Linked DNA regions of Homo sapiens: region 1 is linked to region 2. Evidence: promoter capture Hi-C in 16 types of primary human blood cells and fetal thymus (Javierre and others, 2016). All regions are on one chromosome and are shown on one strand. Each heading gives the region's core, a stretch centred on a gene start or on the middle of the fragment in contact. The rest is flanking DNA. Distances are from core to core; before and after follow the strand shown. Region 1 has its middle 140 kb from the start of LINC02903. Region 2 holds the start of DOCK4-AS1 (DOCK4 antisense RNA 1).

Evidence for each region. The method cuts DNA at HindIII sites, captures the fragments that hold promoters and counts their contacts. A CHiCAGO score of 5 or more calls a contact.
Region 1: a contact is called between a fragment that was not itself captured here and the fragment with the promoter of DOCK4-AS1 in region 2, in 2 of 17 cell types (non-activated CD4 T cells and total CD4 T cells). The highest score is 5.1, in non-activated CD4 T cells.

What each region holds. Positions count from the first base shown.
Region 1 is chr7:108,746,524-108,749,648 of GRCh38, forward strand. No RefSeq gene overlaps it. Among named protein-coding and RNA genes, the nearest start is that of LINC02903, 140 kb to the right of the region's middle. The HindIII fragment of the contact is 5,995 bases long and covers 1-3,125 here.
Region 2 is chr7:111,806,760-111,809,818 of GRCh38, forward strand. DOCK4-AS1 (DOCK4 antisense RNA 1) reads left to right here and starts at 1,746. Exons shown (of 2, transcript NR_103806.1): 1 at 1,746-1,854. DOCK4 (dedicator of cytokinesis 4) reads right to left here. Exons shown (of 53, transcript NM_001363540.2): 29 at 2,542-2,642; 30 at 2,062-2,120. The HindIII fragment of the contact is 9,376 bases long and covers 23-3,059 here.

The sequences.
Region 1 (3,125 bases), core at 64-2,563, 3.1 Mb before region 2:
GCAGTGCAGACTAGTTGCTTTTAGTTGGCCATCTTGGCCAACCCCCTGGCAAAATTAGTTTTGAACAGTGCTTTTGTCCATGATTTGCAACTCTGATTTTAGTGTCACCTCTCTAATGACCCTTGAAATTTTAAAGATGTTGTTATATTTATGCCTGAAATATAATTGAAATTTTTTTGGCACCATAATTCCAACAATTTAAGTTTTGTAGGTGAAAGTGTCCTTTTGTGTCAGATCTGGAATGACTCTTTTAATCCAGTGGATCATGTGTCCTAAGCGTGTCCAAGGTCTTTATTGGCATTGCCACAAAACATAACCTTAAAAAACTGTTTAACCACATTCCACTCCTTTTACACTTTTTATTTCTTAATTTCAAATTATGTTTTGTCTGTTGTCCATTCACTTGGGAGTCTGATTCTGGCACCTAATATATTAACTGTCCACCCCAGGTTCATGATACCCACAGCAGTACCCATGAAAGAATTGTGTGTGTAGCTTGATAAACTTCCTCTATTGGGTAGCTCCATACTCTGTTTTAATAGATCTTTTTTCTTGACTACTACTAATAACTTCATCAGCATGGTGTATACCATAAGTTCTCAGCATTTTCTGCAACCCTTCAATCATCCCCTTACCTTCTCCAAAAAAAAAGCCCATGTGCTATATGGCACATATTGTATGTCCTATGTGACATGAATGATAATGAGCTTAATTAGGAAAAACATATCTCTGCTATTGCTTTAACTAGGTAAATGCATTTTCTCTTAATAAACTCCTTAGGGAGACTCAATTCTTAATGCTACAAGAATCTATGCTATAGGAAAGCTGTAGAGGAATACATTTTTAGAAAGGAGAGCATTTTCTAGACATTTATGTTAGAGTCACATGTTGATCTGGCCTCTATATCCTCCTTTTCAGACCCGGGAGGTGAATTCATTCATTCATTTATTCAGTAAATATTTATGGAGGATCTGCTCTGTGTTAGAAAATGTTCTTGACACTGGTTATTTGTTAATAACAAAGACTCCATCCTCATGGGTTTACATTCTAGTGGAAGAGACAGGCTATGAACAGATAAATGTTATATATCAGGAGATAATACATGCAATGAAGAAACATAAAGAAGGTAAGAAGGAAAGGAAGTTCTGGATTCAGGGCTTACTATTTTATATAGGATAGGGAAGGCTGCTATATAAGATGATATTTGTACAGACATCTAAAAGATGTGAAAGAATAAGCTACATGGATATTACTGGAAAAAGTTTTCTGGGCAGAAGAGAAACATATACAAAGAACTTGAGCTTGGGACAGGCTTGGTACATTTAAGCCTTTTTAGCTGGAGCTGAGCAAAGTAGGCAAAAGGGAAAATAGAAGGAGATGAGTCAGAGAGGTAGTGAGAGGTAGGATGTACGGTCCTCTAAGGCATTGGTCTTCAAACGTTAGCCCTCATTTGAGTCATCTGAAGGGCTTGTTTATAATTCGGTAGATGGGGAGTAGGGCCTGAGAACATTTCTAGCAAACTCTTAGGTGTTATGGATGATGCAGTTGTAGGGCATTTGAGGTCATGGGAAATACTTGGGCTTTTATTGACCAATATGAGAACCAAGGGATGGGAGAGAGTGAAGGAGTGACTTGCATTTTAAAAGCACAACTGTGGTTATTGTATGGCAAATAGAAGTAGGAGACCAGGGTAGAAGGAGGGTGTCCAAGTAGTAAGCTGTCATAATAATCAGATGAGAAGAGATAGTGGCTTTGTCCAGGATGGCAGCTATAGAAATTGGGAAAATAAATGTGGTTGAATTTTGGAAACATTTGAAATAAAACCCACTCCATTTGAAGAAAATGGGGTTTTCTTTACATCCCTTGGTGAATATAATTAAGTAATGGCATGAAGAGCCTTTGCTCTACTGTCCCTGGTGATTGGCTCATATTTGGCCCTTACTACATGACTGAAGTTGAAATCTTAATTTTGTGCATATTTTACATACACTAATATATGTGAACAGAATGTCTCAGAATAATTGAACTCCTGTGATAGGTTGTAAGTATGTACTTTTAAAATGCCAGGCATAGGTTCTAGATTTTTATTATGTTTCACCTTTGTTAAATTGATTTAATGTATGTCACATTATGAGATTATTACTGTCAACTCCAAATTTCATTAAATCACTCATATCACAATAGAAGACATTGACAAAAGGCTGGTTGTGCTTTCTGTCTTTTATAGGATTCCTGGAAAATGTCATTATAGTTATGTCTTTTTGCTAAATGGTATTTGTAAGAACTGCTTAACATTTATAGGTGAGACATCAACCCCCTCCCATCCCATGCTTGTCAATCCTGATGCTTTTGCTCCAGAAATCCTCATTTCTACACTGTGATCTCAGACTTTGTTTTCCTATCGGCATATCCTGGTGAGACAATGTCAGCTTGTCTTGTGCCACACTTTGAACCACAGCTATTGTTGTCTTTAAATGGTAACCCAGAGTGAGAGGTCATTCCATCGTACTTTGCCACCAACTCAAATGCTTAGTGCATTTCAAATCATGGCTTGTTAGAGCCAAAAACCTTTATAAATTGCCTTGTTTATTATCTCATCTTACAGATACGGAAAATGAGCCTAGAATAGCTTTAAAAAACTTATTTTTGTATTTTTGTTTTTTTTACTATTATGAGAGACAAGAATGTGTGCTTTAAAAAAGTCTTTACCAGGGGTTGAATAGTAGATACTTTAACAAGACATTTTATCAAAATATCATGGTCGTCATTCTGAGGTCAAAGTTATAGTGTTAACAATATGGTGTGAAATGATCTTGGGAGCAATAATGTGAAGGGGGCAGCTAAGAGATGTGTCTCTTGCAAGTGGATGTGCCTCCATCTTAACCTGAACAGCAGGCATACTGAAAAGAGGAGAAAATGGTTCCTTGTTTCCTCTTGGAGGTCATATCAGTCTTTTGGCTACTCAGAATTGTTTTTGAAGGGCTATCCTATTAATAACTGTGATAAATCTCTGGCGGGATAAAAACAGATTAGTAACTCTATAACGTAAAGCAAAAAATCATGTGTAACTATGTATTTCTCCAGCGAGCCACTGACCCTTAAGCTCACATCATGCCTTAAAGCAG
Region 2 (3,059 bases), core at 496-2,995:
GAGAGATTTTGCATTTCTTACAAGCTTCCAAGGATGCTGATGCTACAGTATAACAAAATACTGCATTATAGGTATTGATATGCTCCAGAAATTTTCCATATTCTCTAGATCTCTGAGAAAAACAGAGAAGCAATTTAACATAAAAACCAGAGAGGCAGAAATAGTTTCATTTTAGAAGAAAGACAAAATACAGGATAAAAGTTTATGAAGTATACAGTGACATGTTTAGGGAGATTACATGTGACAGCTTTATTTAGCAGCCCAAGGGTCATGGGCCTAAATGCATAGCTATTATGGTTTGGATACAGGTTTATGTGGAAATAACCATAGATGGCAATGCTGAGATGTATCTAGAACAGAAACTGGTCATTCTTTTTTAACATTCTTGTAACCGAACAGAATCTGTCCTGCTCTCATAATTTGAGCCCAGAAAAGAGCTTACACAACCACAAGTGCATTCAAACAGATTCAATGCAGCATTCTTTCAAAAACATCTTGCTAAATTAATGTCGAATGCAATATGGACACTACAAGGGCCTTGATCTTCTTTAGGAAAAACAAGGACACAAAGAATCAATGAAACCTGAAAACACTGAAGACTAAGAAGAGCAGTCTCCAAATAAGAAAACTATTTTTGAGCTGCAACTAAAGACAGACCATGATATCTTCTGGCTGGCCTTACATAGTTGAAGGTTGTTTTCAAGATGATAACTCTTTTTTTTTTTTTTTTGAGTCAGAGTCTCACTCTGTCACCCAGGCTGATGGAGTGCAATGGAGCGATCTTGGTTCACTGCAACCTCCACCTCCCAGGTTCAAGTGATTCTCCTGCCTCAGCCTCCCAAGTAGCTGAGATTACAGGCACCCCCCCACCACGCCTGGCTAATTTTTGTATTTTTAGTAAAGACAGGGTTTCACCATGTTGGCCAGGCTAGTCTCAAACTCCTGACCTCAAGTGATCTGCCCGCTCCAGGCTCCCAAAGTGCTGGGATTACAGGCATGAGCCATTGCTCCCAGCTTCATTATTTTTTTTTATTTTTTATTTTTTCTGAAATCACCAGCAAGCATTGAACACTGGGCTTAATTATATATACCAAGGCTCCCTCAAGTTGTTATGTATATTTGAGGAATATACATACCCTATTAAAAAAAAATCACCCTGTAATGATCCTGGTCAAAAATCAGTCTGTTAACATGAGTGGAAGTAAAACAATAATGGTTCTATTTTCATTCACAGAAAATAAATCCTTCCAATCTCCAAGTTGTACTTGGATAAGCCCAAGAGAAAAGATATTTTCAGGTCATTACGTATTCAACTCAAATAGGTCAATCATTTTAATAAATCAAAGAGGAGCATTAAGATGCAGTAATAGTAAATGAATACTAAAAACCTGCATAGTTAACATACCAAATGAAATAACTTATAAATCTCTAGAAAGGGACCCTATGCCAATGAATTTTAAAACAATTTGTTTTCCAAATATTACTGTTTTCTATGCAACCAGATCTGTACCATCAATTTTCTGGAATAATATACTCTATCTGCTATAGCAGATTAACAAAATTGGATCCAACAGTTTCTTAGCAACTGCAGATGCTTTTAAAATCCTTTGGCTATACTCTTTATGATATAGGACAATGGTCTCAAGTTTTTAAGAGTAGTGACGTTCAAGTCAATGTTTCATGAAGTTTAACCTAAATTTATTATGATTCATAGCTTCAACTCAGAGTTCTAGAAATTTTGAGTTGTTACAGTTCCAAATTCTGAAAGGTTGCCTCATCGCTGGAAATATGTGTAATGTTGGAGCAATGCTAGATTATAAAATTTATCGTTAATTAATAATGAAACACACAAAGGTAAGGTGACTTTTCTTAGAGACCAATTTAAAGAATTTGTTGTAACCTCATTCAATGCCAAAGTGTCAATTACTTTCTATAGATGTTTATTGATTTAGACATTTGGTTTCACATGGTGTCACTGGTAAATTGCCTTTCTTCATTTGTACACTTCAAGGTACAGCGAGGAGCTGTATAGTAGATGTGGCTTCTCTTTTCCTCACTTACCTAGGTTTTGCCACATGCTGAAAATTTCACAACCCATTGTTACCCGCATGTCACCATACCTGAAATAGAACAAAAAACCAAACCTGATACAATGCCTCCAGAACAAGGAAGTATTTGTGTGTCTTTAGGATACAATCTATCATTCTGAATTACAAGGCAAGGAGTTTTTAATTAAAGACATTTAATATACATGTCACGATGCCTCTAAGTCAAATTCTGGTGTAAACCTTTTAGTAAAAGAGATCTGTTTCATAATTTTTTGCATCTATAGAAATTTTGAATCCTGAAAGAGCCAGGTCAAAACAATGTGCAAACATGTTTGAAATATCAAAACATCCAGAAAAGACTGCTTCTTGACCCCTTGGTCACTGGTTCTTCACTGTGTGATTTCCAGTTATGCGCATTCTGATTTATGAATCATTTGAACTAAATACTCTTTAAGAGGCAACATTTCTCACCTGATTATACACTGATACTTACTTTTCTAACACCTTTTTCTTCTTGGAAGGTGTGAACATCTCCAACTGCAGACACAACTGGTTTATAAAAATGACTGCGAGGTAAAAGTAGGAATCCCAGATCTAAAACAAGAACAAGATATATCAATACTATGGTGTTACAAGCATATTGACAGGTGAAGTGACATAGTATTTTGGATTTGCTTCAAAAGTGGTTGAGGGTATAGTTGAAGTAAGACTGACCATGAGTTGATAATAGTTGAAGCTGGATATGGGTACCTCATGGGGGTTCATTATACTATTCTCTCTACTTGTACATATGCTTAAAATTTTCTAAAGTGAAGAAGTAACTAAATAAATAAGTACTATTATTATCTAGGTGTATATTGCTCCAAAGCTGTATTCCAGGTTTCACGAGCTTTTTGGTATATGCTAAAAGACAGATGCGTGGTTTCTCTTGTAATATGTCTGAGTATCTCCAAGAGGATGAGGTATAAGATGGATTTCTTTATTCCTGTGTGAGTTCATTTTTGGAACTCC